Linked DNA regions of Homo sapiens: region 1 is linked to region 2. Evidence: promoter capture Hi-C in 16 types of primary human blood cells and fetal thymus (Javierre and others, 2016). All regions are on one chromosome and are shown on one strand. The core of a region is centred on a gene start or on the middle of the fragment in contact, and the rest is flanking DNA. Distances in the headings are between cores, read along the strand shown. Region 1 overlaps TBC1D5 (TBC1 domain family member 5). Region 2 holds the start of OXNAD1 (oxidoreductase NAD binding domain containing 1).

What was found. Contacts are between HindIII fragments. The CHiCAGO score rates a contact against its expected background, and 5 or more counts as called.
Region 1: a fragment that was not itself captured here is called in contact with the fragment with the promoter of OXNAD1 in region 2 in 1 of 17 cell types (fetal thymus); the score reaches 6.7 in fetal thymus.

The regions. Positions count from the first base shown.
Region 1 is chr3:17,412,374-17,417,251 of GRCh38, reverse strand. The region is part of intron 4 of TBC1D5 (TBC1 domain family member 5); the gene reads left to right. Among named protein-coding and RNA genes, the nearest start is that of TBC1D5, 330 kb to the left of the region's middle. The HindIII fragment of the contact is 1,030 bases long and covers 2,435-3,464 here.
Region 2 is chr3:16,262,601-16,268,087 of GRCh38, reverse strand. OXNAD1 (oxidoreductase NAD binding domain containing 1) reads right to left here and starts at 2,876. Exons shown (of 9, transcript NM_138381.5): 1 at 2,583-2,876. It overlaps DPH3 (diphthamide biosynthesis 3), which reads left to right and starts at 3,145. Exons shown (of 3, transcript NM_206831.3): 1 at 3,145-3,319; 2 at 3,859-3,933. The coding sequence starts at 3,212. RefSeq lists an enhancer at 3,004-3,313. The HindIII fragment of the contact is 2,642 bases long and covers 337-2,978 here.

The DNA of each region.
Region 1 (4,878 bases), core at 1,700-4,199, 1.1 Mb before region 2:
AACTAACCTGCACATTGTGCACATGAACCCTAAAACTTAAAGTATAATAATAATTAAAAAATAATAAAAAATAAATGTCAAAAAAATCTTAAAGGTCTCTTGAACAGCATAGCTCAACTTTCGTAGATCTAGACACAAACTTCTCATGTATTTTGTTCAGTTCACAGTAATAAACTTACAATCTCCAAAATAACTACTATTGCCTTCTTACCCTTCCCCCCACCTTACCACAGGGAAGCAGTACTTAAAATACTTAATTGACTTTAAACAAAAGTTTATCCCATGGCCCATTTATCTTCATTTTAAATTGTCCCTTCCAGGTTTGTTTAGCCAGCCTGTTACTGAATATGATTATATTACGTTCGTGATCCAAATCTTGGGTCTAGTTCTTTCCAGCATTGACCATTTTGGGGTAACCAATAGAAATGACCCTGTCATCACTAAAGATTTGCCTTTCTAACTTTCAGGTATGTGTGTGAAAAAAGGAATGTGGGTGGAGGCAGGGGAAGGGAGTGATAGAAACAGAAACCACAGGGAGAGTCAATGAGATAGACACGGGAAAGAAAAAGAAAAGATTATATCCATATCTAATAGTCTTATTGGTAGCACCATTTATTTAGAATAATTATATGCCATGTTACCTCTCTTATGGAATTAAGTTGACTTATTTAACCACATGTATTATTTAACTTTTAATGTTTGTTTGCTTTCCCCAGTTATATATGAGTATGCATCACTTGTATATTTATAGCCCTTGAAACGTTATAGTTGTTACTTTAAAAATTGAATGTGTATTATGAGTGAATTGTTGCCATCCTTAACATTTTAAGCTTCCCTGTCCAATATGGGAACTACTGGCAATATGAAGCTATTTAAATTTGGATTTCAATTAATTAAAATACAATATGTAGTTCTTCAGCTGCAACTAGCCATGTTTTAACTGCTTAGTAACTATGTATGGTCAGTGCTTACCATATTGGGGAGTCAGATGTAGAACATTTCTGTCATCTCGGAAAGTTTACTTGCTTAGTGCTCATCTAGAGGTTGTAAAGTGAACGATGGATTCAGTTAAAATATAATTGATTTTAATATTTCTTAGAGAAAGTATTTAAGCACACATGTATTTCTGTTTGGTAATACCCTGTTAGTCAACACACTATTGGAAAACATGCTTTAAGTCATAGGATTGACTTTTAATTAGGACATCAGGTTTCGCTAAATAAATGTCTATTTATAAATAACTGGAAAGTAATTTATTCTCTATTCTACCAGCCTTTCCTTTACAGTATTGGCTTATATTTGCAGACTGTGAGGCAAATTCTTTATCATGTTATAGAATGTTAGATATCAAGCCCTTGCCAGTTATTGCAAATATCAAAGTAAATGAGGTGAGGTGAGGGTGGGAAGAAGGTAGGAAAGGTCTGCAGGGAGAGGATTTTTTCCTTATTAATTATAGAGGAAGCATGAGTAAACCATGGAATATAAAATATACTTACTCCAGACAACTTCACAGAGATTGCTGGTATAGGATCCTTTTCTCACTTCATTTCTAAATGCCAGTCCTTTATTATTAATCTAATTATGTTTATCATATATTTAAATTATTAATACAATTAAAAGTGAAAAGCTTGTTATAAAATCAAAAAGTTTGTGATACTGCTTTTCTTGGTTTCCTTTTTTAAAGTATGATTATTGAGTTTACCTACTTTAATATGACCCTGGATTTGGAAGCTCTTACACACTGTATTTTTAAGAAAATAATGCCTGTGTTTTTTTGTTTGTTTGTTTTTGTTTTGTTTTTTCCTTTAAAGAAGAGAGTATTCCAGCCCTTTGGGAGGCTGAGGCAGGCAGATCATGAGGTCAGGAGATCGAGACCATCCTGGCTAACACAGTGAAACCCCGTCTCTACTAAAAAAGTACAAAAAATTTCGCCGGGCGTGGTGGTGGGTGCCTGTAGTCCCAGCTACCTGGGGAGGCTGAGGCAGGAGAATGGTTTGAACCCCAGAGGCGGAGCTTGCAGTGAGCAGAGATAGCGCCACTGCACTCCAGCCAGGGCGATAGAGTGAGACTCTGTCTCAAAAAATATATAAATAAATAATAAAAAGGAGAGTATTATATTTGACAGTCCCTAACTAACTGTTTTAACTCAGTTCTTTGTGTTCCTGTGAAAACTAAGGTGAAGGCTCAAGGTTTCTCAATTTAAAGTTCAGTTCAAACCTGAATCAAAACATGACCGTAATTTTAACAAACCTCTAGGCAATGAACTATTCTTTACCTGTATTTCAGTGGAGCCTTATCATATGATAACATGTTTCACCTAGACATATGAAAAAATACATTTTAAGCTTGTGTGTAATTGTGCATTCTGTTTTTTTATATATATTTATGTATAAGAGATATGCCCTGATGTTTCATTATGGAGGAGAAAAAAGCTTTAAATAAAAGTAAGTTTTAGAAAATTCGTGGTACAGGAAGCAAAAAAGCCAGTACAGTTTGTAATTGCCTTTTAGAGACTCGTGAGTTCCCTCATTACCTGTGATTTAAGCTAAAAATGAGGTAATTATAGATAACATCAGTGTTTATCTGGTTGATCTTGGCACCTGCAGTCCTAATGTTGTAGCTTACCCATATCTGGTGCCACACTTTACAGTCTTATGCTGACATACCTAATTTACACTTTTCATATTTCCATTGATTTTAAGTTAGATGTTACTTGTTCTATTTGAATAGTATTTTCAAAATCATACCTTTAAAATGGCCTAAAAGTATATACTCTTAAATGTAATACTGGAATTATGGTACAGTGCTTGGCATTGATTGAAATCTTTCACTAATGTATTTTGATATAGATTAGAAACAGATTCAAAAATTTACTGGCTCCTTTTTGATAAAATAAATGGATCATACTAAATATGGCAATTTTTAAAAATATTGGCATGTACTTTAGGATTATGAAATTGTATAAATCTTTTTGAATCAAGTTCAGCTTTCTTACCTTTTACTACCTCAGCTTCAGATATTCTACCCATCTAACCCTGATCTAATCCTACTTAAATCCTGCTTCATCCTGCTGTAGCCACTTTGTTCTATTATCTTACTACTTAGAATTGCAATGAAATGATCTGGTTGACTGGCTGACCTTGTAAACTCCATGATCATCTCTGAGAGCTGTCTGCTGCACTTCCCTATCACTATACCTCCCAGAGAGCTAAAAGCAACTTTCTACCTTATCTCTTTTTTCTTCCACTGTCTGTGACTTTTGGCTTTCCCCAAGGTGAGAATCCCTTCTCTTAACCACTCAGCAATTTCATTGTCAGTAGAAGCCTAAGTAGCTCCTCTTAACCAATGATTAGAGATCTTCAGTCTTAAACTGTATGTAGGCCCTGAACTCTTTGCTATTATTGTAGTCATTTGGATTTCTTAAGTTAGCCCACAAACACATTGTTTCCTTTCCATGTTAAGCTTAAAAATGGGATAGAAACCATCATATAAACCTATACAGTGTAAAATTAGTGTTTTCCATAGTGTATCACCATTTGGGACAATGATTCAGAAGCCTTCTAGTCATAAATTAGCACATAATTTAGTAATTTATTAGTCATCATGTAGGTTATAAAGGTATTTCAACTATTAAATTTAGAAGATATTAACAAATTTAGAAGGTACTAGTTTCACACCAATGTTATGAGCATATCTTGGGAAACTACTATTTAATTATATGTTAAAATATATAATTACAAATAGATAATCTCATTATAATCATCAGCTGTATTTATCCACTACATATTCTGATTGCTTTCCATGTCAAAATAGCCATTGCAGGAAGCTTAACTACCCAAATAGGTCTTAGAGGGAAGGTATCAATTCCTGCTGCAGAAGTTGACTTTATTTTTTGAGAAATAATTGCATCAATCATGGCCTACATATTTAATAAGTTACAGTGTTGTTTCCTGAGGAGCACACCAGTAAGCTCAGAGTCCTTCTCAGCATGGTGCTTCCAAGGCAGCCAGTACTGATCTATTAACATTGGCCTGAGAAATGAAACCTACTCATCTTCACCTTTCCCTGCTTAGATGCTGATTGTTTTCAGGGACCAAGTATCTGCAAGATAGAGTAATTGCCACTAGGTGGCACTAATGCTTTGTTAAGGAAATCTTCAAGGTCCAGGTGGCTAATCCATTCCATTTAAGGTTTTGCACACCTAAACACCCAGGTTCTTAACTACTCACAGGGACTGTTGTTAACTTATCTTCTCAGTCCAACTAGTAAAAAGTTATCTGCATGTCCATGGGCTTGATATTCAAAAACTAAAAATCTGAGGAAGAAAACAAGGGTATATTTCTATATTGCCTTGTTGCCAGAGGTCATTTTTGCTCTTGGTGTCTGGAGAATCATGTTTCCCTTTAGTGGTTACTTCCATGTTATTCCAGAAAGATGTCTTTCCTATTTCTCATTTCTTTATTCTCTTGACAAGTTATTCAATTTTTCTGAACCTTACTTTCCTCATTCATAAAGAGGGGTTAAAAATATATACCCTAAGTGATTTACCTAAAATATTATATCATAAGTGGGTCTTTTAAAAGCATTTCGATGGCATTATTGTCAGATTTTTGCTTTTCAGGCACATTGTAAGTATATTTTTTTATGTAAGAATAAGTTTAGCAACTACTTTTTTTTAAATTAAACTGAAATATTTCACCACTGACACCTCAATATTTTCTATTGTTAATCATGTCTTCCTCCAACTTCAGGAGCAGGCCTACCATTCATATTTGTGATTGTAAAAAAACCTTCATTTTGATCCTTCTCCCCTAGAAGGGCTAAACCTTTCAGCAGTTTACCCTCTGGAATCTGTTTAATGTTTGATTCTCAGTTCTT
Region 2 (5,487 bases), core at 1,627-4,126:
ATATATATCAAGTTATTTCTAAAACCATATAAAGTAGACCATCCCATCAATGTCTGTATCCTCACAGGCCTTCCCTTACCAAAAAATCTTAATTAACTTTATTTCTGAAATGCAGAAAAGTATAATAAGTGCTAAATAAAACTGACACCCATTAAATATGTAGTAAAACAAACTTCTGAAAGCAACAGATTAAATTTAACATTTAAGATTAATTATATGGTTTCAGTTCAACAGGTATACTCAGTTCATTCAACAACTACAGGGGTGCCAGGCACTATTTTAGGCCTTGGAGATATAATAAAGAACCAGACGCAAGGCCCTTGCCATCATGAAGCTTTTATTACAGTTCCAGAGACAGATAGTAGTAAACAAATAACAAGATAATTATAGATTATGATGAGTATGATAAAGGGAGTAAGAGTGATGGGGTAGGTGGGGGAAATATCAAGAAAGACATCTCTCCAGTGATGACACCTTGGCTGAGATCTGAATGATGAGGAAAAGGCGGCCAAGCAAATGTTAAAGGCAGACAACTCTGGCAGAAGGACTAGCAAGAGCAAAGGTCCAACACAGAAATAAGCCCGGCATGTTAAAGGAACCAAGGCCAGTGTGACTGGAGAGCAGTAAGCTGGTAAGAGTGAAATGAGATGAAGTCCAGCAGTCTATAGTAAGGGTAAGAATTTTATCCTAAGGGTAATGGGAAGCAACTGAAAAGTCTGAATCAATCAGGAGAAGGACAAGACCTAATTTATATTTTTAAAGGACTGCTCAAGTTGCTGTGGGAAGGATAACAGAGGGAGAGGGGCAGGAGTGGAAGCAGGAAACCCAGTTAAAAGACTCTGGTCTAAGATTATAATAAGGTAACAGCTACAGAGATGGCAGAAGTAGATGAACATGACATATATTTTGGAATTAGAGCCCCAAAACTTGCTGATACATTAGGCAGGGTGTGAGAGGACACTGACAGAGAAAAGCCAAGAATGCCTCAATAAGCATAAATGCACTGAAATTAAGTAAGTTCAAAGAACAATCATGACATCTGTCAATTTAGAATCTTAGGTGTCACTGAGGAAGAAAAAGGGCTCCTCTTGCTCCAACAGGCAAAGACACCTTAGTGGTAAACAAGTAGTATACACAGAGTATTTGACCGGAAATCAGCGGAACTGGGCTCAGGTGTGACTCCTTCCTGCTTTCTAATCTTCAGCAAGTCTCCTCTTGCCATTTTAACATTACCCACGCCACCTCACTGGATTACTGAGAGGAATAAATAAAATGTCTACCAAAGTACCTGGCAAGCAACAGTGTTACTAAAATCAATCCTAATACATTGACCCCTTCTCTTCCTTGTCAAACAACCTAGAGAGGTGGAGGTTTGGTATTGCCAATAAACAACTCCTTCTGGCCTGATATACAACAGCACTCATCAAATATAGTTTGCATTATACAATTATGACCTACTTCTTTTTTTTTTTTTTTTTTTTTTTTGAGACAGCGTCTAGCTCTGTCGCCCAGGCTGGAGTGCAGTGGCGTGATCTCAGCTCACTGCAATCTCTGCCTTCCAGGTTCAAGAGATTCTCCTGCCTCAGCCTCCTGAGTGGCTGGGATTACAGGCACACCACCACACCTGGCTAATTTGTGTATTTTTTAGTAAAGACGGGGCTTCATCATGTTGGTCAGGCTGGTCTCGTATTCCTGACCTCGTGATCCGCCCTTTTAGGAATAAATGTAAAGTTTAGTAGTCATTGTAATGTTTTCTTCAAAAGTGCACAGGGATATATTATGTATATGTGTTACGTAAATGTAAACTAAATGTTATATATCATTGCTGAACCAAGTAAAGCTCATAATTTCCGTGCAAAAGTGGAACATTACATCTAAAAAGGATCTTATATCATCTCTACTCCAATCCTTTCTTAGAAGAGGAAATAAGGCCCAAAGAATGTAAATATCCAGTTGCCAGAGGTAATCAACAACTCAAGATTCCGATCCCAGATCTTCTCTCGAAAGTGCTTTTTCACTACAATGCATTTCTTCTCTACTAAGATATTAAAATGCCTAGTAATTAAGTAAGACCCAATGTAATCGGTTTTACCAAAACAGGCACTAGCACTGCTTTCAAGACAAAAATGCCTTTTATCTGCATTTCGCTTCAAGGCATACATAGGCCTCACACTGATAAACCTGCCTACTGACACCATTTCTTTCACAACGAAAAAACTGGTACTCACATAAGTAATTTGTTCCTGGGCTTTGGAGACAGACAAGCTCTTCATTATTTCCCAGGTGTATGATTTTAGTCAAGATGCCCAACTCTCTGTACCTCAGTTTAAAGATTAATAAAATGGAATAACATGTAAACTCCTAGAGTTGACAATTCCACTTAGTGCAATAGCTGGCACATAACTTCCCAATAATAAAAGGTGATGTTATTACTATTACTAAAAATCATCGTCGTTAATAATGTTATAAGCCTGGCAAACAGAAGACTAGAACTCAATCCCTGCCTTCCAGGGCTTGGTCCTTTCAGCAACACAATTTAGGGTATTTTAAGGCGTCTGGGGTGAGGAAGAAGCGGAATGTACCTGCAGCCAGGAATTAACAAGCTGACCGTCGCCCTGGGCTCAAGGTCACTCGGTGAAGCGAAATTCTACGGGAACTGTTCGTCCGTCACCAGGAAGGGAGGTCGAGGAGGCTAAGCTGCTCTCGCCTCCCCACCCCGCCTTTCCCGAGGGCCGGGAGGCTGCTACCTAGCACCTGCTGCAGCCTTCAGCGGGCTATTTAAGGCGTTAAAGCAGACGATAAGAAGCAGGGAAACTTTCCCCGCTGGCACCTAGCTTGCAGACCCGGCCACGTTTAGTTGCAGGCGCCTGGAATACTCCGCGGTCCCAGACGTGACGTAGCAGCGCGGGCGAGCCCCACATTCTATTGGTCGCTGCCGCCCAATAGGAGGAGCGGTGCGCGACCCCGCTGAGCAAGCTTTCAGTCTTCCCAGTGTCTCCGCCCCTAGTTCAGCCATCTCCATGGTGACCGCTACCGGTTATCCATTTGGCCGCGCAGGGCGGAGTTGCGTCATTGCCTATGCGCCGGAAGGGCTAGTCCTTGCCCGGCGCGACCTGATGATGCCGAGCCCAGGCCGGTTCCGGCGAAGTTAAACCCTCGGAGCTGGCCTCGGACTGCTGGGGCGTTACCCCTTCGGCCACCCCCGCTGACCATGGCAGTGTTTCATGACGAGGTGGAAATCGAGGACTTCCAATATGACGAGGACTCGGAGACGTATTTCTATCCCTGCCCATGTGGAGATAACTTCTCCATCACCAAGGTAACTTCAGGGTCCCGCCCGGCGGTTCACCCAAGCAAGCGCAGTTTGGTTCCGCCCGTTCCTTCCATCATTGGGTAGCCTTTGCTGCGCTGTGTCACCCACGCCCTCTTTCCCGTTGCTGAATCTTCCTCCTCCCGCGTCCCCCCACCCCAACTAATGCCCTGAGCTCTCTCGGTAGGCACGCAGTTCTGGCCTTAGATTAGGTCAGGGAGAGGGTGGCGGAGAGCCTCTGTCTCTCTGCCCGATCCCTGCCTTAGGGTCCCAACCTGGGATATTTCTGTCGAGGAGGGGACTCGTTTTTTGTTTCCCAGGGCTTTTGGGGCGACCGAAGCTCGCCTGACCTTCCTAGGTGTTTCCCCTAAGTGACGCTTCTAGGGGAAAATGATGTCGGCATTTCTCGCTGAAGGCCCTGGGGTTCTCACCCACCTTGGGGGGAAGGCAAGCCACCAAGAGACTTGCATCTAGGGGTGGGATAGGTTTGGGGGAGGAGATGGCGAAGAGAAGCTATCCTGACCACATGGTATTTGATTTCGTTGTAGGAAGATTTGGAGAATGGGGAAGACGTGGCAACGTGTCCTAGCTGCTCTCTCATTATAAAAGTGATTTATGACAAAGTAAGGGATATAATTTTAAAACGGGGGAAGGGTATTGTAAGTCAGTGGCAAGGACTTAGATCAGCTTGTCAGTGATGAGTGCAGGAGAATGTTTCATTGTGCTAGGTAAAGTGCGGTATTTTTTTAGGCAGGTTTTAAACACCATTGATAAACAGCCGAATAGTAAATTAAAACGTTTAAAGTTCAGATTACGTAATTTATTTTAGCTTTAGAGATAAATCTAGCTTTAGTGAAAATTATTATTTATTAAATAGAAAGTATATAGATTATTTTAGTGGACAATTTTTTATATTTCTCTTCTATTTAATATGTAATTAAAATTGTTTAGAGCTGCTAGACTTACTTTGAAGGGAACAATTGTATGGTATTTCGTGCTGGCTTATACACAGAATTCTGCATTATCTTGTTTGAGATATAATTCCTAGGTGCAGCTTTACAATTTCATTTTAGTCTTTAGTTGCCCTATTATCTTTCACCCAAGGATGTTGACAATAGAAAAAAAAAATGTTATTACTGCCCACTCCTACCCAAAGTTTTGTTCAGTACTTGGAATGGAATCTTAGGTAAGGACCTTAACACTCTCAAGGATGAAGTCCAAAATGAATATAGGGAAAGTGGGGATGAGGCACAGAGCCTCATGAGAGAAGCGGGCTATAATTTAGACTATAATTTAGAAATATAATGATTCATTCTTGTATTAAAATGTGCTCTGCAACAGAAAGCAAACGGTAAGGAAGATCAGGAGTGCTGGTCTGGGAGGAAGTTGCAGTTTTCCATAGGGTGATCATGGCAGGCCTTACTGAGAAAGGCCTTAATAGGTAAAGATTTGAAGGAGGTGAGGGAGTGAGCCATGTACATATGAGGGTATGAGGTAAGAGAGTCGAGCAAAGGATCGTTCAGTGAAGGGGACCTAAGACAGGAACATGCCTGATTTTATCAAGGAACAAAAAGGAGGCCAGTGTGACCAGAGCAGAGCAGGATGAGAGTAGCGTAAGAAGTTGTGGATCACTTTAAGGACTTAGGCTCTTGTTGTGAGTGATATAGGGAACCATTGGGGGATTTTTGAACATAGGAGTGCTATGATCCAACTTAAGTTTTTTAAAAAATGATTCTGGCTGCTGTGTTCAGAGTAGCCTATAGAGAGCAAGCATAGAAACAGGAAAACCAGTGTAATAGGAGGCTATTACACTAATTAAAGAAGGAGATGGGTGGCTTGGACCTGGTTACAGCAATGGAAATAATGAGAAGTACTTAGATTCTGGATACGCTTTGAATAACTGATTGGATATAGGGTGTGAAGGAGTGAGACAAGGATGATTTCAATATTTGTGACCTTAATAACTGGGAGGATGGAGTTACTGTCAATTGAGGGAATGTAACTATAGGTATAGGGGTTGAAATTGTACATACTAAGTGAGAGGTCTGTCATCCAAGTTGAGCTGTTGAGAAGGCAATTGGATATGCATGTCTGGCGTTCATGAGAGAGATTGGCTAGCAATGTCAATTTGGGAGTTATCAGTAACAGATAGCATTTAGAGCCATGAGATTGGATGA